Regions from separate parts of the Homo sapiens genome. Here all the other regions are linked to region 7. Evidence: promoter capture Hi-C in 16 types of primary human blood cells and fetal thymus (Javierre and others, 2016). All regions are on one chromosome and are shown on one strand. The core of a region is centred on a gene start or on the middle of the fragment in contact, and the rest is flanking DNA. Distances in the headings are between cores, read along the strand shown. Region 1 overlaps LOC105370764 (a long non-coding RNA gene). Region 2 overlaps AQR (aquarius intron-binding spliceosomal factor). Region 3 overlaps AQR (aquarius intron-binding spliceosomal factor). Region 4 overlaps AQR (aquarius intron-binding spliceosomal factor). Region 5 overlaps AQR (aquarius intron-binding spliceosomal factor). Region 6 overlaps AQR (aquarius intron-binding spliceosomal factor). Region 7 holds the start of AVEN (apoptosis and caspase activation inhibitor).

Region 1 (3,437 bases), core at 42-2,541, 960 kb before region 7:
CAAACTGAAGACATAAGGATCAACTAGCATCTGGAAAGAGAAACATGAACCTACAAGGACAGACCTCTCAGTAACTCCAAGCTTCCACAGATAGTCTAATGTTCTGCCCTTAGTCATGGAGCTAAACATGTTTCTGGCCCGGGACTTGGAGAAGCTAAAGGAGAACATCTGGCAGGAGTTGAAGGAACTGTGGGCTGGATGTTGCCCAAGGCCAGCAAGGTGAGTCAGCAGATTACAAAAACATGGGTGAGCTGGGATGGGTGCCTGTGCCCTGCACAGACCTTCCAAGTGTAAAAACAAGCTACTGCTTCCTTCTCACCTTTCAAATACCATGCAAAATGCCTCCCATGAGGCTTGCTAATCCTGAGTCAGGTAGCAAAGGAAATTCTTGAAAAAAAATAAAAGGCCGGGCGCCGTGGCTCATGCCTGCAATTCCAGCACTTTGGGAGGCCGAGGCGGGTGGATCGCGAGGTCAAGAGATCGAGACCATCCTGGCCAACATGGTGAAACCCCGTCTCTACTAAAAATACAAAAATTAGCTGGGCATGGTGGTGGGCGCCTGTAGTCCCAGCTACTCAGGAGGCTGAGGCAGGAGAATCGCTTGAACCAGGGAGGCGGAGGTTGCAGTGAGCCGAGATCACACCACTGCATTCCAGCCTGGTGACAGAGCAAGACTCCATCTCAAAAAAAAAAAACACAAAACAAAACAAAACAAAACAAAAAATTTCGGTTTAGCCAAGCTGATACAATACAACCCCACACTCCTTCAACTAACTCCAACATGGCAGCAGTAGGGTTCATTTAAAAATACGAATCAGGCTGGGCACGATGACTCAAGCCTGTAATCCCACAGCTCTGGGAGGCCAAGGAGGCAGGATCACTTGAGGCCAGGAGTTCAAGACCAGCCTGTGCCACATAGCGAAACCCCATCTCTACAAAAAAATTTAAAAACTGGCCATGTGTGGTGGGTGACATGTGCCTATAGTCTTAGAAACTCGGAGGCTGAGGCAGGAGGATCACTCGAGCTCAGAAGTTGGAGGCTGCAGTGAGCTATAATCACACCACTGTACTCCACCCTGAACAACATAGCAAGATCTTGTTTCTAGAAAAAAATATATATATAATATATATAATATATATATTATATTATATATACCCACACACATAAATCAGACCACTTTTCTTTCCTAAAGTCTTCCAAATGTTTCCCATTGCATTTAGAATAAAATCTAAACTCTTTACTGTAGTTTACAACACTGCATAGGATCTGACCCCTACCACTTCTCAGAGCTCCTTGCATTTTGTACCACTTTCTCCTTGCTCACCATTGCTGAGCCACTGGCCTTCTTTTTTTTTTTTTTTTTTTTTTTTTTTTTGGAGACGGAGTCTTACTCTGTTGCTCAGGCTGGAGTGCAATAGCACGATCTTGGCTCACTGCAACCTCTGCCTCCCGGGTTCAAGTGATTCTACTGCCTCAGCCTCCCAAGTAACTGGGATTACAGGCACCTGCCATCATGCCCAGCTAATTTTTTTTTGTTTTGTATTTTTGTAGAGACCAAGCTGGTCTTGAACTCCTGACCTCAGGTGATTGCACGCCTTGGCCTCCCAAAGTGCTGGGATTACAGGCTTGAGCCACCACGCCTGGCCACCATTGGCCTTCTACCTATTCTTCAGTCACTGAGGTGATTCCTGCCTAAGAGCCTTTGCACCAGCTGTAACATCTGCCTGCAACATTCTTCCCATTGATTGATCTTCCGGTCACCAGCTCTTTCTTTTTATTCAGATTTCAGCTTAAACATCATCTCCTCAGAGACCTTCCTCCCTGACCACTTAATCTAAAGAAGCCCACCATACCTCAATATTCTCTGTCACATCACTCTGTCTTAATAGTCGTTTTCACCATTAGAAATTATCTTATTTATTGTTTGCTTGTTTATTTTCTCTTTCCCACCACCATCACTATCAGAATATAGGCTCTGTAAGAACAAGGATTTTCTTGTTTCTCTGCTTGGCACATGATAGTGCTCAATAAATGTTTGTGGAGGCAACTGTAAACCAAAAACAAAATTCTAAGCCCCCCAACCGACTGGATCCTTCATCTTAGCCAAGGGCGTTCCAAAGTTAACCTCCAAACTAGTTAAGGCCACGATAGGAAGGGGGAGTTGGACGTGCCTCATCATACTCTTCTCCCGCTGGAATTCAGGCACAGCTGACCAGCATTGACATTAAAACAGAGACTTTAAGACTGACAAAACAGACTGTAGCAATAAGATACCAACATGACAGATGGTAGGCCCTGAAAAAAATAGAAGTATTTTACCCCCAAATATATTTCTTTGATGTATTTTGAAATGGCCCTACAAAGTTGTCTCTTGTGGGGGAAATCTACATTCTGTAGAGAATCTACTTCCTTTTCTAGGTCTTTTCCCTGATCCAGGAGACAATTAACTAAGAGCGTGACAGCTTTCTAAGTCTGATAAGGAACATCTACAACAAGCTTGTTCAATCCACGCACCAAAACAGCTATGAATGTGGTCCAACACAAATTTGTAAACTTTCTTAAAACATTATGAGATTTCTTTGCAATTTTTATTTTTTTTAGGAAGGAGTCTGGCTCTGTTGCCTAGGCTAGGGTGCAGTGGTGCGATCTCGGCTCACTGCAACCTCCGCCTCCCTGGTTCAAGTGATTCTTCTGCCTCAGCCTCCTGAGTAGCTAGGACTACAGGCATGCACCACCACGCCCGGCTAATTTTGTATTTTTAGTAGAGACGAGGTTTCACTGTGTCAACCAGGCTGGTCTTGAACTCCTGACCTCAAGCAATCCGCCCATCTCGGCCTCCCAAAGTGCTGAGATTACAGGCGTGAGCCACTGTGCTGGGCCTTGCAATTTTTTTTTTAGTATATTCTATGTGTGACCCAAGGCAATTCTTCTTCTTCCAGTGTGGCCTAGGGAACCCAAAAGATTGAACACCCCTGATCTACAATGTATTCTCTCTAAAGCCTGCTACCTGGAGGCTTCATCCACATGGTAAGAACCTTGGTCTCCACAATCCCTAATTCTAACCAAAATACTCCCTTCTATTAATTCCAGGTCTTTAGATAATAGCTTAACTCTTTCAACCAACTGCCAATCAGAAAATATTTGAATTCACCTATAACCTGGAAACCCCCACTCCGAGTTGTCCCACCTTTCCAGACAGAACCAGAACAATGAGCATCTGACATGTATTGCTTGATGTCTTATGTCTCCCTAAAATGTATAAAACATTCTAGGCATGGTGGCTCACACCTGTAATCCCAGCACTTTGGGAGGCCGAGATGGGCGGATCACCTGAGGTCAGGAGTTCAAGACCAGCCTGGCTAACACAGAGAAACCTCTTCTCTACTAAAAATACAAAAAATTAGCCGGGTGTGGTGGCGGGCGCCTGTAGTCCCAG
Region 2 (3,122 bases), core at 466-2,965, 900 kb before region 7:
TACGAATATTGCGGTTTAGATAACAGGCAAAAGAAGAAGAGCCTTCAATATGGTGAAAAGGAGTTGAGAGTTAATAAGGGTCCATAGGACTTGACAGCCATACAGCTTCAGGAGAGCTTGTCTTAGAGAAGTGAATGAAAACAACTAGTATAGACCACACGCTTGGAGCATTTGTCTGTGGCAGTAACTAGAAACAGAGGTAGGTCAAAGAGGCTTGAATATATTTACATTATTTACAAGTTAAGAGTAAAGAGCTAATATAAAGCAGGAGGGGCTGTTCTTGAGATTAATTACAGTGTGAAAACTACAATTTTTGCTAAAGATGTAGTTTCTTTTGTTTAAATCAGAGAAATTAAAACACTTCAGATCCTTAATAAGAAAACAAAGCCTAAGCTAAATACAGGCATAATCCACAGAGGAAAAACTAAAGAAATGAAAGCCATTATTTTATTAGCTAAAGGGTTCTGCAGCTCTCTCATAGTCCTGTCAGAAACCTGTATTTGACTTGCCATTAATTATAAGTAAGCACGTGATGCTTCTTTTATACATATACAAATAACCCTTTTGTAATTATTTGGTTTTTTTAATAGACTGCTAAAAAGCCTACTAGGGCTTCTTTAAAGCTTAAGTGAGCAAGCCAATACAAAATGAATTTTATTCTGTTTCTTTTCAGATTTTTAAGAAGAAGCCAGACCACTTCCCATTCTTTTTTAAACACATCTTGAAGGCGGCATTAGCTGAAACTGATGGTGAATTTTCACTTCATGAACAGACAGTCTTACTACTTTTTCTTGATCATTGCTTCAATAGTTTGGTACTTTTACTTTATATTTTGGGGTAATTTTCAAGTTTTCTTGTTCTTTTAGGTTGAGTTTAGATGAAATTACCTCTGTAGCCAACTCCATTCATCCATAATAGCAGGCAATAAGGATAATGCTAAAAGCTTGATTTCAGCCACTTATCAGTAAAACCATTTTATAAGTCTTTAAGATATGTTTTTATAAGATATGTTCACTTTTTAATAGATTTGAAATTGATACTTAATTTTTTCTATCTAGACTCTTAAGAAAAATGATTATAAGAACTGAAACTCTAAAGGGAGAGCACAAAAATGAGAAGCAGCAAGGAGACTGGTTATATGGAATTGGAGTAATGAGATCTGTGCCACAAACTGCATATACATACAGGAATGTAGTTTCATTGCTTTTCATCATGCCTTATGCATAGGCTGGTTAGTCAACAGGAGAGTTGTATTTTGAGTTGACTGATAAAGGCCAAGTGTAAATGATCTTTGAAAATGTCTTGTGTGTGATACATTTTCATCCTTCATAAGATTATCTTCTAAAAAATTAAATATTTTCAGTAATATTTTATTTGAGCTTTCCTGTGTGGTTAGCTGATAAATACACATATTTATTTAGTGCCTCTGAATTGATAATTCACTTACACCCATGCAGGAGGAATGCATGGAGTTCTTTCTTATTCTGAAGACTGAGTGTTAATAGATGGATGATTATTACCTGTTTCCATGTACTATCTCACATGGATCTTTTAAAGGCATAAAAAAAGATTTATGATGCCTGCACTGGATACCACTGTTATCTCTTTAACATTTATTTTTATTTATTTATTTATTTATTTATTTATTTATTTATTTTGAACATAAACTCAAGATTTTATTGTCTTCATAATAAAAGATGACACTTAGAACTGAATCACTTGGCCCTTTCTCTTCTTATCTCCTCCCAGTTCAAAATGCTTGCATCTTTTAATAGCCAGCATTCTCTTAGATCTGCAGTTGGGCTCAATGCACTCAAGCCTTAGCACAATCTTTGTAGTTTTAGCCTTTTTCCAGAAAATTGGCTTAGTTTGCCCACCATAGCCACTCTGCTTCCTGTCATAACGCCGCTTTCCCTGGGCATACAGAGAATCCTTGCCCTTCTTGTACTGTGTCACTTTATGGGGTTGGTGCTTGCCACACTTCTTACAGAAAGTCCGGCGGGTTTTAGGGACGTTAACCATGCTTGCGTGAGCGTTATCGGCACAGAAAGCCTCTTTAACATTTATTAAACTAAACAGAACAAATAGAAATATAAATAGATGTGATTTTTTTATCAGAAACTAAACAGAAACAAGATTTTATTAGTATTAGTAATTTGGTGATAGTTTTAGCCAACTTACCAAACTAGTTTATTATTGAAATGCTTTATCTTTTAAAATATGCAGTCAGTTCTTATTTGAGGTAGTTATGTTCATTTTATAAAGTAGCTATGAACATTGAATGAGCTAATGCTGAACCATTACTCCTTGGGGAAATACAGGGTTAGGTTCCTGCAAGCCTTGGTCATGACATTTTACAAACTATCAATACATAGCCTTATTTTATGTGTGTTTCTATTTAAAGACAGCTTATTTATTGTATATTATTGATTCATTAACCATGAACTCACTGCCAACAGCACTGTAATTATGCCTGAACGAAGCTTATCTAACATACGTATTTACTCTGTAAGACATATCACAGCCTTCTTGCACCCATGAACATCAGACAGCACTTCAGCCTTGGGCTTGTTGCCATTTTAAACAGCGAAATCATCAAAAAGCACAAGCGTGCCAAAAAAAATAGTACTCAATAGACCACAAAAAGGATACTTGTTTCTTACAGTATGAGAGCTGAGAATGAAGCAGAGCATCAGCTCAGTCTCACCTGAGAATGTGCACGTCGGACAACTCAGATTTTTGTTTGGGCCATCTGGATGACTGTGAAAGCACATGGAGTGTTGATTTTGGGGTTACAAATACATTTTTATTAGTATATGAATTTGCAAGTACAAAATCTGTAGATAATAAGGATGGAGTCTTTTTTAAAGCATTGAACTTCTTAATATCAAAATATTAACTTGAAAATATTTGTGGCATGTTTTCCCTCCAGGACTTAAAAAGGCAGTATACTTCTTATGTAAAGACTTAGGTAGAAATGCTGGTATGTTTATAAACTTATTTTCTTCATGCCCTAAACAGGAAGTAGACTTGATACGAAGTCAAGTACAGCAGCTTATCTCCCTCCCAATGTGGATGGGCTTACAGCTGGTAAGTCTCTAATTTCAGAGTCTTATGAATGT
Region 3 (3,466 bases), core at 115-2,614, 870 kb before region 7:
CCAGAATGCTCTTATGTACATAGGGTTAGCTTTTTTCTTAGGTTGGAGAGGAGATATTCCTCTACTTCTCTTTCTTTTCTGGACCATGTTTGCCTGTTTCATGCTATCATATCCCTGTTTCATGCTATCTTATATACTTTGCATACTTTGAGAGTTAAAGGTTTTCTTTTTTTTAAGTTAAGAAATAAGAGTTACTAATATTAGGACTTAAATACTAGCTGAACAGTATTCCTACTTACTAGTTTTAACTTGTCTAAAAGTTGGGGATAAATTATTTTTTGTTTGAGTAATCATCCATTTCTTTGGTTTCAGGCAATCTGAATATGGCGGTGTAGTGTTTGGTGGTTGGGCGCGAATGGCCCAGCCCATTGTGGCTTTCACTGTCGTTGAAGTGGCCAAACCCAACATAGGTGAAAACTGGCCAACCCGAGTTCGTGCAGATGTTACCATAAATCTCAATGTCAGAGATCACATCAAAGATGAATGGGAAGGTAAGTTTGTATTTCAAAAAGTGACATTACCTTTTGCCTTGTTATGAACTTTCACTTAGAGCATTAACAAAGTACTTTTACTAAATGTTATCCTTTAAAGCTTTTATTAAGCGTTATCCTTGAAATTTGATTTAAAGAATAGCAACTTTTTTTCTAATTATTAGTTTTAAAAATACCAGGGATCATACAAGAATATTTAGGTATCTTAATACTTTAATAAAAAGTATAAAATTGCATACATATCAACGTTTTGAAAACTGAAGTTTGCAAAGCCTAGAGGAGAGCATTTTAAGTCTTAAATTTAGCAAAATAATATTTATGGATTTCTGGCATCAATATAAAAGAATAAAAATATTAGTGTTCACCAAAGAGCAGGGAGAAAGCCCACATATAACATACAAACATGCAGAGCAGTAAGGAAAATTGGTATTTTTCAAAAGATAAAAGTAGCCAAGGTGAAAAAAATAGAAATACATACACTTTGTGGAAAATAAAAATTAGGCAAGCTTAAAAAGAATATGTGGGGGTGGGCAGGGCTATAGTGAAACAATTCAGAAATAAATAATAGTTTATTTGCGCCTAAGGCAGAAAGGATAAAGAGTCAGTGAAGTCAAATGTAGTCAAGGATATATAATAATTGCAAAGAAATTAAAGGAGTTATTCCTCCTATTTTTGCTAGGCAAGATTTTAAGGATTAGAGTTCCATGTCAAAATTAATTTGTTTTGGAGGCAGATATGTTCAAAATTACTAAGTCCAATAGAGTTAAAACATCAATAAGACCTCTGCCAGAAGTGACATATGAACTGATTTCTAATAGGCAGTTTTATATTTTTCTCCCAGCTGTCCTGTGAGAGGTCTTACTTAAAGCCCTGTTTTGAGAAACAGTAGTCAGTAGGTTTTACCTCCTTTTACCTTCTTGGCATGCCAGAAGGAAAGGATGTCCCTTAATGGATCTGTTTTCAGAAATTATTACTACCAGTGTAGCTGTTTATAATCATGGGAACTATATCAAAGAATTCTGAAGGAATCCAGCAACAAAGCTAGCCAAATGTTTAACAAATGCCTACTGTAGCGGGTATAGTTTATGACAGATTGTTTTATAACCCTTGTATCCTTCAAAAGAGTTCCATCCTGGTATATTACTCATCTAGACTAATGTGCACCTTTATTATTGCTGAGCCTCGAGAAAGCCATTAAGTTGCTGGAGAAGGTCTCATATTTATTATTCCTTGAAGCTTAAGGAGATATTAAACACTGTGGGTAATAAACTGAGATAACTTACTGGGTACCCCCAGAAGTAGTAGATAGTTGGAATTTTGTTTATTTTAAAGGACTCTATAGGAATTTATAGATGAGAGGTCTGCATTTTGGTGTTAAGGAAAACAAAAGGATGTTTAAAAACAGGCCACTTCCCCCATTACTGACTGCTTTCAGAAGGACATGAGACAGTCTTTTTTTCTTTTAAACATCAGCCTCTGGTAGAATGAGAACTGGACAGGGTACATTTTGATGGGCAAGATAGGGCACAATAGGGTATTGTGGGATGAGTGATAATCTGGGGTATGATGGAGAGAAAAGTGTTTTATGGGAGGCCTGGGCCAAAAACCAGCCCCTATATTGATCACAGATAGGGTAGCCAAATAGAAAATGGAGTAAAAAGGAGAGATTCTGTAAACAATAATACATTTTTTTTTTTTTTAGACGGAGTCTCACTCTGTCGCCCAGTCTGGAGGGCAGTGGCACAATCTCGGCTCACTGCAACCTCCACCTCCTGGGTTCAAACAATTCTCTGCCTCAGCCTCCCGAGTAGCTGGGATTACAGGCACCCGCCACCACGCCCAGCTAATTTTTTGTATTTTTAGTAGAGACGGGGTTTCACCATCTTGGCCAGGCTGGTCTTGTGATCCACCTGCCTCAGCTTCCTAAAGTGCTGGGATTACAGGCGTGAGCCACCGTGCCCAGCTGAATATTGTTTTATAAAAGTAAATTTTAAAGATTATTAAACTAAATACCATAAAACATTCCTTTTGTCCCTTTGAAAAGGTGTGAACCTCAAGCCCTTATCTTCTTCAATATTCTCATTTAAAGTTAAGGAAACAGAATTCATGAAATGGAAATGCCAGATTTGCTCCAGAAAGCACAGCTAGGATAGGGTGGATACAAATGGTTGCAAGGAGAGAGACATATAGGATTTTAAAAAATGTGGATCTAAGATGTCCCAGAGTAAAGTGGTTTGTTTTAGGAAGGAACAAGAGGTCATCCCTCAGTGATGCCAAAAAGTAACTCCTATCTTGGGAGAGGATAAATGACTTCTCAGGACCACTTCTTTGGCTGTAAGACTTAGAAGTTTTAATGAGCTGTGCAGATCAGACATCACACAGGTAGTACAACTCAGAGAGTAGGATGATTCCCATTCATTCTCATTACTTCTCTTGCTGCTTTGCATAGAATTTATTGGGAAATAATTAAGTCAGTATTATGAATAGAGTTATTATTTCTACCTTTACCCATACTCTAACCAGTCCCCCAATTAAAACAAACCAAAATATTTTCAGTACTATTAGCCATATGCCCACATTGTTGATTTGATTTCATTGTGTTTGTTGTTAACAAGGTTGTGAGCAAGCAGACTGTTTACATTTACATTTATGTCATGTAATGGCTAACAAAAACATCAGAAATGGAATGAAGATTAAGTGGTGTAGCATTACATGCTGTGAGGTCTAATTTTATAATCCTTGTCTTCCAGTTTCTCTACTTTTAATAGAGCTGGGAAGCCATTTGAGTTCTTTATTGGGTCTAGTGACCAAGAAGCTGTGGACTCTGGCACAAGTCTCCTTTTTCTTGACATTCACTTATAAAAATGTTCACGATTTGCCAACTGAAACTGTATATATTCAGCCATCTTTCTCAAGATCATACCTGTAAACAATACTTTTTTGCCTTGATTAATTATTCTTGAGTTGACCTGTTT
Region 4 (3,131 bases), core at 109-2,608, 850 kb before region 7:
TTATTTCGCTATTCAATAAATTATATGAGATAGTCAACATTTCAGTATAAAATAGGCACATTGTGTTAGATGATTTTTCCCAGGTATAAGCTAATATATGTGTTCTGAGCATGTTTTACATAGGCTAGGCTAAGCTATGGTGTTCAGTAGGTTAGGTGTGTTAAATGTGTTTTCAACTTAGGATATTTTCAACTTATGATAGATTTATTGGAATGTAACCCCATTGTAAGTTGAGGAGTATCTGCTATTGAGCTACTCTTGGATTATCACTGCTTATAATGAGATGACATTGAGAGATATATAAAAGCAATCTTTTATTTCTACTGGAGAGGGTCAATGTGAAAAAGCTAAGACTATTTGGATATATGGTTAGATATTTGGATTAAATTAAATTGCTATTTTTTCCTTCTACACTAAACTAGAACTTTTACTTGGAGATTATAAGCATTAACCCTTACTGGGAGCATTTTTCTTCATTTAGTAGAATGAATATTCCTGAAAGACTAAGGTCTAAAGTGCATTGATACTGGATTAAATTTCAAATCCATGTGAAATGTACACCTGTATTACATGAAGGGACTGTATTCTACTTTAGTCATTCTGAAGCTGTCAGAAATGAGGGAAGAACAAGTAACATTTATTAGATCTGGTATAAAATGAGACAGGCAACTCTGAGAACATCCTGAAGCATATTATGAAATTTGCATGGTAGTCAAAACCTCTGAAAGTTTTTTCTCGGAGTTTATGTTAACAGTGGTGACTTCAGTTGACCAGTCTTTGAGTTGGTATATACAGAAGCACTGTGTTTTTGGAATGCCAAATATCAGTTACTCTGGTGATCATTAACTTTTAATTTGTAAAGTTTTAAAAATAATACTCTTCAGTTCATTTGCCTGACATATTTTTATATATTTTGAAGTTTATAAATAGTAAACTTATCCAATATACTGAATATATGTTATACATAATTATATAATAACATATTACATAACATATTGGACATAATGCATCTAATATACTGAATTTGTGGGAGTTGAAGGGGGATCAATTTGGACTTTGTCTTGATAAAAGAAACAAATTATGAAAAGAAGTTTTTTTCTTCTGTTTATAAAATTTGTTCTGTAAAAACCTATTGTAAATTCTTAAAATGAACAGAATAATTCATGTGTTGTTTTAACATATTTTTTACTGTTTTGTCATACCTTGATATGGCTTTCTACAGTTATCCTCTACTTTATGATTGATTTGTATAGCACAATCATTGAAAAGATTAATTTGCAAAAATAGACACATAATTCACTGCTTGCTAAACACCTGCCTTGGTTTTTTGAAATTCAAATCATTTCCCTTGATGCCCATCGAATTGATTGTTTTCCTTCAGTTAACTGTTTTGTTTGCCAGATCTTCATTTGCATGTATAATTCAAGTAGTTCTTCAAAATCACTGTAATTCACAATGAAATCATGTAGTTTTTTCTGGGATTATAGTGTGCAAGTTTGTGGGGGTTTTGTTTTTTGTTTTTACTTTTATTCAATCTATGTGGTTCTTGAGTTTGAATAGTGAAGGTTTGGATAGTGAGTAACACCATGTAATCTGCTCTGTTGGGTACTGAGTTTTGGATGATGAGTATCAAGAGTTTGGATAGTGGGGGATTTTTCTGAAAATTTATGTTAAATCTCTTCAGTTTCAGAGCTCAGATTGCTAGAATTTTGATGGTAAAGGATATCTGTATCTACATTATATAACCTAGGTGTTTATAAGACTGGATGCTGACTTCACAGGCAGGGTTGGACTAGTGAAAGTGAGATGTTTGAATGGCGGCTTATTTTTAAATAGTACCTTAATTAGTGAGTCTTTCCATACTATGAAACTTTTGCCTTTCTGTAAAACCTTGTAACTGCGGAAGTTCAGATAATGAATACTAGGATTCGAGGGAACCCTAATTATGAACATTTCACAGATAGAAAGTAGTGACTTTTAAATGACTTTCATCAGAATAGTTTGCAATAAATGAGTGCTCTGCTCTTTATTATATTGAGAACATTAGACTTTCAGACTAAGATTTGAAAGATGCAATTTATGTTTCCACCTTCTGGTCCTCTTAATGTATTCTACCAACACACTCACTGCCTTCTTATTGTCTTTCTCCAACTGCAAAAACTTTTTCAGTTCTCTGTAACCCAAGGAAATGCTGTTGAATGAAATGAAACTCAGTGTGGTTGTTTATTTTAGGAGTTGTTACAACTCGGAAGAAATAGCATCTGAGCCAATGCCTTTCTCGTTTCATAAATTAAAAGCAGATGTTTAATAGGTGGGTGGTTTTATGGTTTCTAGTTATCCATACAGCCAAATAGACATAGATGGCAATATCAGAAATCAATATAAATACTATTTGATTAAATTATAAATGGCCTAATATAAGGCTGATTTCCTTCTGTGTTTCAACTTTGATTCTTTCTAAATGTTAGTTTTTGCTACGTTTAAAGGTGCCGTCACCCTTCTTGCTTTATTGTCTAGGCCCTAAACCAGTTGTTTGAGAAAATCATGGCATTAGACATTGATGAGCGCCACCTACTGCGTCTTGGTCATGGAGAAGAAGAGCTGGAGACAGAGAAAGATTTCAGCAGGTGAGCAAATGGGAGTGAGTAACAGTGTAAAAAAGGATTTTTTATTTTCTTTTCATTTCTTTTATTAAAGAAGAAGAAAGCAATGAATACTGAAACTTAATTCTGAAAGGTTCTAACTTAACTTACTAAGACTATATGTTGAGCTAGAAATATGGTCATGATGTCCCTCAGTTCCAGTTGTGTATGGTTATGCCATTTTGTCTTCAAATATACAATTATGTTAATGAAGAGAATGATCTTGTTAATCTTTTTAACAGATTGCCTTTTGCTTTCTATTTATTGAGGTAATTTTTCATGCTGCCAGTTCAAAACTGTACAACTTTAAATGATTCCTTTTTCACATCTTATTCAGGAATTTAATTTGCATATATTTTAGGTGCCAATTAGGAGGTTGATTTATTTATTGAAATAGAAATTACGGGAGGCTGACGCAGGAGAATCGCTGTAACCCGGGAGGCAGAGGTTGCAGTGAGCCAAGATTGCGCCATTGCATTCCAGCCTGGC
Region 5 (3,518 bases), core at 40-2,539, 820 kb before region 7:
TAAAGTGTAAAATTTTATATGTTCTGGCATAGGTATTTACCTGTGAAGCCATCAGCACAGTCAAGATAAAGAGCATATCCATTATCCCAAGAGTTTTCCCTTGTGCCCATTTGTAATCCCTCCTTGCCCTTCACCAGTCCCCTTTTTACCTTCCCAGGCAGCCAAGGATCTGCTTTCTGTCATGATAGGTTTGCTTCTATTTTCTAGATTTTTATATAAATGGAAGCATACAGTATGTATTCTTATTTTTTCTGGCTACTATTGCTTATACAAGTCTTTGTACTTTATCTTGGGTAGATACCTAAGAGTGGAATGGCTGAATTTATGTTAAGGATGTGTTTAACTTTTTAAGAAGCTACCAACCTGTTTTTCAAAGTGGTTGAACCACTTTACACTCTCAGCAGCAGTGTGAGAGTTCTAGTTGCTACACATCCTCACCCTCACTTGATATGGTACGTCTTTTTAAAATTTTGGCAGTTCTAATAGATATACAGTGGTCTCAGTATGGTTTTGGTTTTCATTTCCCTAAGGACTGATGATGAGCATCTTTTCATGTGGTCATTTGCCATCTGTATATCTTTGGGGATGTGTCTGCTCAGGTTTCCTGCTCATTTTTTTATTAGGCTGTATATTTTATTAAGTTTTGAGAGGTTTTTATTTATTCTGGCTACAAGTCCTTTATCTGATATGTATTTTACAAATATTTTCTCCCATTCTGGCTTGTTTATTTATTTTGTAAGTGTCTTTCAAAGAGCAAAAGTTTTAAATTTTGATGAAGTTCAATGTATCAAAGTGTTCTTTTATGATTCATGCTTTTTATGTCCTAAAAATACATAGCCTAACTCAGAGGTATAAAGGTTTTTTCTAGAAGTTGCAGAGTTTTAGGTTGGATACTTAGGTATGATGCATTTTGAGTTAATTTTTATATGATACAGGTAGGACTGAGTTTTATTCATTTGTCTGTGGATATGCAGTTGTTTGAGCACCACTTCCCTAATAGGCGATTTTTTTCTTTGTTGACTTGCTTGTCATCTTAGTCAAAATATCAATTGACTATATATGTGAGAGTCTGGGCTTTCTATTCTGTTCCATTATTCTGTATATCCGTCCCTTTGCCATGACTGTACTACCTTGATTATAGTAGCTTTACAGTCAGTCTGGAAATTAGATAACATAAGTCCTTTAGCTTTGTTCTTCATTTTAGAAATTGTCTTAGCTATCCCAGTTCCTTTGCTTTTCTGTATACATTTTACAATCAGCAGGTCAGTTTCTACCCCCAAAAGCATGCTGCAGTTTTTAAAAGGATATTTTGAAGAGGAGGATTGTTTAGGATCTATTTGGGGAGATTAACATCTTCACATATTAAGTCTTCCTATCCATGAATAAGATCTCTCGTTTATTTAGATCTTCTTTAAATTCTCATCAGGATTTTGTAGTTTTCAACATACAAACCTTACACATATTTTGTTAACATTTTGCTAAGTATTTTTCTTTTTCGTTTTCTTTTTTTTTTTTTTTTTTTTTGCTGCTGTCGTGCACGGTACTTTTTAAAAATCTTAAAGGCCAGGCGCGGTGGCTTATGCCTGTAATCCTAGCACTTTGGGAGGCTGAGGTAGGTGGATCACCTGCGGTCAGGAGTTCGAGACCAGCCTGGCCAACATGGTGAAACCCCGTCTCTACTAAAAATACAAAAATTAGCCAGGCATGGTGGTACATGTCTGTAATCCCAGCTACTTGGGAGGCTGAGGCAGGAGAATCGCTTGAACCTGGGAGACGGAGGTTGCAGTGAGCCAAGATGGCACCACTGCACTCCAGCTTGGGCGACAGAGTGGGACTCTGTCTCAGTCAATCAATCAATCGATCAATCAATTCATTCATTCAATTTCCAGCATTGTAAGCAGAGTCCCTGATGAGAAAGTCACTAGACTGCCATGGGGCAAAGGGCAAGCTAAGCATATAGAGTTGCTCCAGTTTTCTGGTTGAACGGAACAGAAACCTTGTTCCTTGCTGCTCCCTTCTCCCATGGCTTTGCCTTAAGGCCAGGCTCCTCTCTGCCTCTCACAGGGCTCTTTTTCTTTTCTTTTTCTTTTTCTTGAGACAGAATCTCTCTCTGTCACCCAGGCTGGAGTGCAGTGACACAATCTCAACTCACTGCAACCTCCAACTCACAGGGTCAAGTGATTCTCCTGCCTCAGCATCCTGAGTAGATGGGATTACAGGCTCCTGCCACCACGCTCAGCTAATTTTTGTGTTTTTTAGTAGAGATGGGGTTTCACCATGTTGGCCAGGCTAGTCTCGAACTCCTGGCCTCAAGTGATCCGCCTGCCTTGGCCTCCCAAAGTGCCGGGAATGCCACCATGAGCCACCGCACCCAGCTCACAGGGCTCTTTGATTAAAGTTGACCCTTTCTTGAGTTAGTTTTATAATCAGTCCTGATCAGTCACTGTTTTTTGCAGAAATGTTGACAGCAAAGTATGTTGCTTAAAAATCTAATAGCTTTTCATGGTTGTTTTCCTCTCTGAAGATTTTATATGTATTTTGATTATCAGTATATGACATCTGTGTAGGCATATTCCTTGGTGTTAGCAGAACCTAGACCATTGTCATCAGAGGTGTTACATCTGGAGTATAAAATGGTCAGCACTGTTTTGGAGAACTCTAGAATGGTAATGTGAGAGCTTAGCTTTATAAGCTGTTTTTCATATTGGTATTGTCTTTGTTTTTTTTTTTTTAATTAGACTTTATTACAACTACCACCTGCTATGGTAGAAGAGGGTGAGGAAGTTCAAAATCAAGAAACAGAATTGGAAACAGAAGAAGAGGCCATGACTGTTCAAGCTGACATCATACCCAGTCCAACAGACACCAGCTGCCGTCAAGAAACTCCAGCCTTTCAAACTGACACCACCCCCAGTGAGACAGGAGCCACTTCCACTCCAGAAGCCATCCCTGCTTTATCTGAGACCACCCCTACTGTGGTAGGAGCTGTATCTGCACCGGCAGAAGCTAACACACCTCAGGATGCCACATCTGCCCCGGAAGAGACCAAGTAGCCAAACTGTAGTCCTTCTAAAGGAGGACATGGCAGTCAAAAAGTCTGAGTAAAGCTGTTTTTTGTATTTTATATTTGCTTCTGCCATTTTACTGTCACTAATTAATGTTTAGTTCTTATATTTGTTAACTGATTTCGGTGTCTTGAATATATTTTTTTAAATTATGTGTATGAACAATTCTAGTTTCATTTGTTCAATCAGAAGAGCAAATAACCATTCCTTTCATGTTTTGATCACTGAGTGTGTCTGTAATCATACCTACATTAAAATCATTTTCTATGAATATATAATATATACTTCACATTTTTAGTGAACTTCTCTAAAGAAGAGGACAGAATATACTGGACTTAACCACGAATACCCTTGAGTGTCCAAATTGGGAAGGAACTTGTTTCTTCTGTTATACTATCAAATGCTTAAATTCTGTTTCCTTTTTTCTTACCTTTGTTTGCTGTCTTTATGTAA
Region 6 (3,204 bases), core at 531-3,030, 890 kb before region 7:
ACGGATGAAGCTGGAAGTTATCATCCTCAGCAAACTAACACAGGAACAAAAAACCAAACACCGCATGTTCTCACTCATAAGCAGGAGTTGAACATTGAGAACACATGGACACAGAGAAGGAAACAACACACACCAGTACCTGTCGGGGATGGGAGTTGAGGGGAGGGAATTTAGAGGACAGGTCAATAGGTGCAGCAAACCACCATGGCACATGTATACCTATGTAACAAACCTGCACATTTCCACATGTATCCCATTTTTTTTAGAAGAAAAAATAAATAAATAATGGTGTAAAAAGTGAAAAAAAAAAATCTCTGTTTTTCTTCTTTCCTACTAGGTATGTGGAGACACCAAAATAGCCTTATTGTTTTGGAAGAAGGATTAACGCAGATGTCTTTTCCTGCTTTTTTCAGAGCATTAGTGTTTTTGTCCTGTCTCTGCCCTTGAAATAACCACAGCTGGTGTGGCATGTGGTCTATTGTATTGACACAGGCAAGGCATCATTATTGCTTCCAAGGAACTTGGCTATTTGCCCTGTTGAGGAGGCCCTAACTTTGCTTGATGCTGCTAGCATTCTCCTGAGGACTGACTTGTTTATTTCCTTGTTTACACAGTTCATTCTCATGCTTGGGTTGCAGAGTCATTTTGCCATTGTGTGTAGTAATCTCATAATCCCATGGCAAGCTCACTCATGGCAACCTTGGCAACCTTCTGTGTCATCCACCATGGAACACATGAAAACTTCCGGATCTTTTCTGTGCCATGTGGGCATCAAGGAAGACAGGGATATTATTTCAATCACTCTGTTGTTAAATCCCAAGGAAGACTAGGGATATTATCTCAGTCACTCTGTGCAATACTACTATTTCTGTTTTCTTACAGCTTACCCTATGTTGGTTGAGAGTGCTACCCTGTGAGGTCTTTTCCCAGAGTTCCAAACAAAAGCAAGGCACAAGCATAAGTTTTTTGGTCTCTCCTTCCAAGTTCTCTGCAGCCAGAGTTTCCCTTGGGACTTTCTTTTAGTCTTGTTCGACCAGTTCTTGATAATCAAGTGTGTATTTGTTTTTTGCTCCTCTTCTGTCAATAAAGCTAGCCTTTGTGGCTATTTTGTATATATTGAAAATCCTTTTAGATGTCAAAAGCTGAACGCCAACTTTATGTTTTTTACATTTCTGTTATGACAGTTGTAGTTTTTTCTCTTTTTATTATATGCTTCTGTCTGATTAAGGTAGAGGTCACATAAAAGAAGCATATAAGAGACAGAAATGCGTTAATATTTTTATAAAATATTTTCATTCTTAAATAGTAGATGTTTATATTAATATGTAGACATTAATTATTAATATTTTTTGCCATTATTTTCTAGAGAGCTGCTTTTGCACATTTTCCTGAACTCTATGATTTTGCCCTCTCAAATGTGGCAGAAGTAGATACTCGGGAGTCCTTGGTCAAGTTTTTTGGACCTCTTAGGTAAGACAACATGAAAAACTATATATTCTTTTTTTGTATCATGCTCCCTCAATTTTACTTTTCTTTATTGCTTTTAATCATTTTGCAGTACTTTAGATAATATTACTTGTTATTTCACTCTTCGTTGACGTCTACAACTAGTGCTTCTCTCCAGCAGTTTGGTGTCTTTGTCACTTACCCACGTTTGGTAAAGTTTCTGTTTTTTATGACGTATACAATTTTCTTCGATCTGAAATTTTTCTCAGAGTAGAATATAAAGCTGGTCAATCTCATCAGTCATAAACGACATATGACAAAAACCAATAAAGATTCATTATGTGTGATATTAGAGGTGTGACTTAGGGAAATTTTTGCATGTTTAAAATTTATAAAATTAGTAATATCCTCTGGCAGTTAGCTATCTGCTAATATATCCTTTTGAAAATAGTAATAATAATGGCATACATTTATTTACTATGTGATAGACGTTCTGTTAAGTGTGTAAACAACTCTGAAAACATTCATGCTAGAAGTAGGTACCATTTTACGTATAAGGTATCTGGGGCATAGAATAGTTAAGTAATTTGCCTAGGTTACACAGCAAGTAAGTGGCAGAGATACAATTTAAACCCGGATAGTGTGATTTCCAAGCCCTAACTTTTAACTACTATACTGTATCATCTCCCAGCTCTTGGGATAAATTATGTTTAGTTCCTTGACTATTTAAAATGTAATAAACTGAGGTTGGTTTGGTTGTTCATTCTCATATGAGGATTTAATATAATTAATAACACATAGATTCATTTCATTATTTTAAATAACTACATAGAGTTCCATTAAACAGGACCAGCATACTATTTTTTTATTTTTTTATTTATTTTTATTTTATTTTATTTTTTTGAGACGGAGTCTCGCTCTTTCGCCCAGGCCAGACTGCAGTGGCTCACTGCAAGTTCCGCCTCCCGGGTTCACGCCATTCTCCTGCCTCAGCCTCCTGAGTAGCTGGGACTACAGGCGCCCGCCACCACGCCCGTCTAATTTTTTGTATTTTTAGTAGAGACGGGGTTTCACCGTGTTAGCCAAGATGGTCTCGATCTCTGACCTCGTGATCTGCCCGCCTCAGCCTCTCAAAGTGCCGGGATTACAGGCATGAGCCACCGCGCCCGGCCTTATTTTTTTAAAAGTTAATCTCCTATTGGTGAGTCTTTTTTTTTGTTTTTTTTGAGACGGAGTCTTGCTCTATTGCCCAGGCTGGAGTGCAGTGGTGCGATCTCGGCTCACTGCAACCTCTGCCTCCTGGGTTCAAGTGATTCTCCTGCGTCAGCCTCCCGAATAGCTGGGACTACAGGCACACGCCACCATGCCCAGCTAATTTTTAGTAGCAAAGATGGGGTTTCACCATGTTGGCCAGGCTGGTCTCAAACTCCTGACCTCAGGTGATCCTGCCTCGGCCTCCCAAAGAGCTGGGATTAGAGGCATGAGCCACCGCTCCTGGCCTCCTTTTGGTGAATCTTTAATTTTTAAGTTTTGGCTTTTACAAACAGTTCTGCAATGAGCATCCTTTTCGTACTGATTCCTAGAAGCAGAATGGCTGATTCAAACGGGGCATGCGTTTAAAACTTGTTACATATTGCTAAATTTCCTTCAGAAAAGACTATCAATTTACACTTAAACTAACAGCGTATGAGGATTTATTTTTCTCCCTACTAATGCTGGGTAAATTGGATTTTAATTTTTTCTATTTTTATCTCATTT
Region 7 (3,080 bases), core at 186-2,685:
TGTAATCTTGGAAGTTACTTAACATCTGTTTTAGATTCCTGATCTGTAAAATGGAGACAACACTAGCTTACCTCGTAGGCCAGCTATTAGTCCCAAATGAAGTGATATGAGAAGTATGTAGAATAGTGTTTGGTGCATATAAGTGCTCTACAAGTGTTACTATTTTTAAGACTGTTTCTCTGGAGTTGACAATCCTTCAATAGTTCCCCCTGTCTGGAAGGCGCCCCTACTCCCATTTACCAACCAGGCAAACTCCTACTCAACCATTAGGCTTTAGCTCAGGGGTCTATTTCTCATGAAGCCTTGGGTAACCCGTTTAAATATAATTTAACTTTTCTTCTTTGGACCTTGATCTTGAATCTCTCACTGCACTCAGCAACACGGTACTGTAATCATCTATTCACACGACTAGATTATCTTCCTTGTGGGCAGTGAGCTACTTGAGGGCAGGGGCAAGGTTTTTTTTTTGTTTTTGTTTTTAATTTCAGGACATAGCACTGTGCCTGATGCAGAGTAGGCAATTAGAAGCAATGAAAAGTATTAACTATGTATGGATATAGGAAAGAACCAGAAAGTACTGAGGGGGAAGAAAACACTTATTCTGCTAGGCTGACATTTTAGCCCTTGCTTTCATTATTTTCAGGTGGTTTCAGTCCCAAGTTAAAAACTGCTTTCATGCATCTGTGTAACCAACTGTTCCCCTTCCTGTTTTCTCCTTGGTTGAAAGAAGGGACTGGAGTGAGACCGCCTTAGAATGCCAGTTCCACCACTACCTAGTTATTCACTTTAGTCAAGTTTTTTTTAACCTTTCCAAGGCTGTTACCTCACTGCAGAATAAGGATGACAGTCATCCCTACCTCATAGAGCTGTTATGAGAATGAAATACTCATGTGCTCAATAAATGTCAGCTGTAGTAGTCATTTCTACAGAAATTCTGCTGAGGACTTTGACGCCCTTTCTAGCCATCTCCCAGTTTCGCACTGTTCTCTCTCCCACGTGCTGCAGTCCACCTCTCACCAGACACAAACTCTTGTCTTTACATCCACACCTCCTGAACCCTGACTTCGGTATAGTTTTAAAATGATACACATTCGTTGCTGAAAATTAGATTAAACGGAGGAAAAAAAATTAACTCACTTCAAATCTCAGCAGTTAACCACTAACATTTTAGTATGTATTTGTTTAGACCTTTTCTTATGCAAATACATACGTTTAAACTTTTTTTTTCCGAGAGTTCACATCATACAAATTTTATTTTATGACTCGTCCTTGCACTTAGCACGGTCTCTCCCCCAACCTATCTCTGATGCCTTGAGAATCCCCCCGCCCCGCTGCAGACCCCCACCACTTCCAGCTCCCAGCGGTCCGGCCTTCCCGCGGTCCCGGTTCCGGCCCCACCTGCGGGACGCCGGCCGCCCCGCCCCGCCCCGCTCCGCTGCGGCCGGCCTCGATCCCTAGCCCCGCACCCCGCGCCTCGCTGCTACCGGGCGCCTTTCGCTCGCGGCTCCTCCGTGCGGCCCGCTTCCGGTGGGGCCAGGGCGTCTCCGCCGCAGCTCGGCTCCCGCGCGCTCAGCACCGCCAGCGGCGGCCAGATGCAGGCGGAGCGAGGAGCTCGGGGAGGCCGTGGGCGGCGGCCAGGCCGCGGCCGGCCTGGCGGAGATCGCCACAGCGAGCGGCCCGGAGCCGCAGCGGCGGTAGCCAGAGGCGGCGGCGGAGGCGGCGGCGGGGACGGAGGCGGACGCCGGGGCCGTGGCCGTGGCCGGGGCTTCCGCGGCGCTCGCGGAGGCCGAGGAGGAGGAGGCGCCCCGCGAGGCAGCCGCCGGGAGCCGGGAGGCTGGGGCGCAGGGGCCAGCGCGCCGGTAAGAGGCGACGGCTGGTGGGGCTGGGACCGCGTGTAACTGGGGCAAGTGGGGCCGAGGCCGCCAGTCAAGAGCCGCAAGAGAGCGTGCCAGGCGCGCGCCAGACGGGCGGCGGCGCCGGCGCCTGCGCGGGACGGGCGGATGGTGGCGCGGGGGCGCGCCTGGTGGCGGGGGCGCGCCTGGGTATGCGCTTGGCCCTCGTGGCCTCCTGGCCGGGCTGGCGCGAGACAGTGGGGGTAGGAGGGCTTCCCAGCCTGCCCCAGGGTCCGGGTTAGGAACCCAGAGGCCAAGGCCGTGTGTCAGGGCTGCAAGTCTCGGCGGCCCGTGGGCCGGCTGGGCTGTCTGTACGAGTACCACTATGGGACGGAGGCGCGGCCACGACGTGGTCCCTCGGCAGCCTTTACGGGCACGCTCCTGTTATTAGGAGGGAAAGGATTTTTTGGTCTGTTTTGTTAACTGTCTGTGCAATGCCTAGTACACAGTAGGCGCATAATAAAAAGTTTGTTGAGTGAAAGAATGACCCCTACGACTGGACTCTAGTATTTGGGGGCGGGACCAGATGCATAGTTCTTTGTAATAGCGTAGTTCTCTTTTATTATGCCTGTATGTGTAGAAATCAGCGAGCACTGGGCTTTGTCGTTTTGAATTTTCAATTTATAAATGAGCAGTCAAGTTCTGAGTTTTAATAGCAATATCATCAGTCTTATTGACACATTCATAGAAGGAAGTTTTTGGAGATTGGAGCAGGGGATGATATATATGGGGGCAAAGCTAACCATATCTCAGCTAAAGGAGTTAGAGGACTGTCTTTTTATGAGTTGTTCTGTTACCTTAACATCTGTAGGACAAGACCATCTTTATATTCTGCATTCTTATGCACACTGATTTAAAAAATTCTTTTTTGCATGAGGCAAAATTTGCTCTTACTGAAGTATTTACAATATCTTGAGGGCATAGCAGATAAGATATCCCTAAAGAGAGTAGTTGTATACAGCAATACAGAGCTGGAAAAAAAAGTATAAAACTTAAATTTAAATGTAACAAACTTAAATCTTGTTAGGATTAAGATAGGTAATAGGCAAAACTTGAATGAGATATAAAAACATTTTTAGGGTCAGTTTACCTCGTGTAAACTGACAGAAACTAAGGTAAATGACAGAAACTAAGACCAACCTAGTGCCCACTATATATCACATTTTGTTCTTATAACTCTATTATATA

What was found. The method cuts DNA at HindIII sites, captures the fragments that hold promoters and counts their contacts. A CHiCAGO score of 5 or more calls a contact.
Region 1: a contact is called between a fragment that was not itself captured here and the fragment with the promoter of AVEN in region 7, in 1 of 17 cell types (total CD8 T cells). The highest score is 5.0, in total CD8 T cells.
Region 2: a fragment that was not itself captured here is called in contact with the fragment with the promoter of AVEN in region 7 in 5 of 17 cell types (activated CD4 T cells, naive CD4 T cells, total CD4 T cells and 2 more); the score reaches 6.6 in activated CD4 T cells.
Region 3: a contact is called between a fragment that was not itself captured here and the fragment with the promoter of AVEN in region 7, in 4 of 17 cell types (total CD8 T cells, activated CD4 T cells, total CD4 T cells and 1 more). The highest score is 7.8, in total CD8 T cells.
Region 4: a contact is called between a fragment that was not itself captured here and the fragment with the promoter of AVEN in region 7, in 1 of 17 cell types (activated CD4 T cells). The highest score is 5.8, in activated CD4 T cells.
Region 5: a contact is called between a fragment that was not itself captured here and the fragment with the promoter of AVEN in region 7, in 1 of 17 cell types (activated CD4 T cells). The highest score is 5.5, in activated CD4 T cells.
Region 6: a contact is called between a fragment that was not itself captured here and the fragment with the promoter of AVEN in region 7, in 1 of 17 cell types (total CD4 T cells). The highest score is 5.7, in total CD4 T cells.

What each region holds. Positions count from the first base shown.
Region 1 is chr15:34,997,456-35,000,892 of GRCh38, reverse strand. All of the region lies in intron 2 of LOC105370764 (a long non-coding RNA gene), which reads right to left. Among named protein-coding and RNA genes, the nearest start is that of ZNF770, 11 kb to the right of the region's middle. The HindIII fragment of the contact is 2,416 bases long and covers 84-2,499 here.
Region 2 is chr15:34,941,980-34,945,101 of GRCh38, reverse strand. AQR (aquarius intron-binding spliceosomal factor) reads left to right here. Exons shown (of 35, transcript NM_014691.3): 6 at 674-814; 7 at 3,022-3,090. It also overlaps the pseudogene RPL36AP8. Among named protein-coding and RNA genes, the nearest start is that of AQR, 26 kb to the left of the region's middle. The HindIII fragment of the contact is 1,540 bases long and covers 946-2,485 here.
Region 3 is chr15:34,907,160-34,910,625 of GRCh38, reverse strand. It overlaps AQR (aquarius intron-binding spliceosomal factor), which reads left to right. Exons shown (of 35, transcript NM_014691.3): 17 at 313-491. Among named protein-coding and RNA genes, the nearest start is that of AQR, 61 kb to the left of the region's middle. The HindIII fragment of the contact is 730 bases long and covers 1,000-1,729 here.
Region 4 is chr15:34,889,711-34,892,841 of GRCh38, reverse strand. AQR (aquarius intron-binding spliceosomal factor) reads left to right here. Exons shown (of 35, transcript NM_014691.3): 24 at 2,518-2,627. Among named protein-coding and RNA genes, the nearest start is that of AQR, 78 kb to the left of the region's middle. The HindIII fragment of the contact is 3,676 bases long and covers 1-3,131 here.
Region 5 is chr15:34,856,327-34,859,844 of GRCh38, reverse strand. AQR (aquarius intron-binding spliceosomal factor) reads left to right here. Exons shown (of 35, transcript NM_014691.3): 35 at 2,739-3,518. The coding sequence ends at 3,053. Among named protein-coding and RNA genes, the nearest start is that of ACTC1, 63 kb to the right of the region's middle. The HindIII fragment of the contact is 7,297 bases long and covers 1-3,518 here.
Region 6 is chr15:34,925,301-34,928,504 of GRCh38, reverse strand. AQR (aquarius intron-binding spliceosomal factor) reads left to right here. Exons shown (of 35, transcript NM_014691.3): 13 at 1,367-1,470. Among named protein-coding and RNA genes, the nearest start is that of AQR, 43 kb to the left of the region's middle. RefSeq lists a silencer at 403-697. The HindIII fragment of the contact is 5,060 bases long and covers 1-3,204 here.
Region 7 is chr15:34,037,559-34,040,638 of GRCh38, reverse strand. AVEN (apoptosis and caspase activation inhibitor) reads left to right here and starts at 1,435. Exons shown (of 6, transcript NM_020371.3): 1 at 1,435-1,859. The coding sequence starts at 1,593. The region is part of intron 1 of CHRM5 (cholinergic receptor muscarinic 5); the gene reads right to left. RefSeq lists silencers at 1,343-1,512, 1,693-1,902, 1,993-2,052, 2,403-2,462. The HindIII fragment of the contact is 8,272 bases long and covers 1-3,080 here.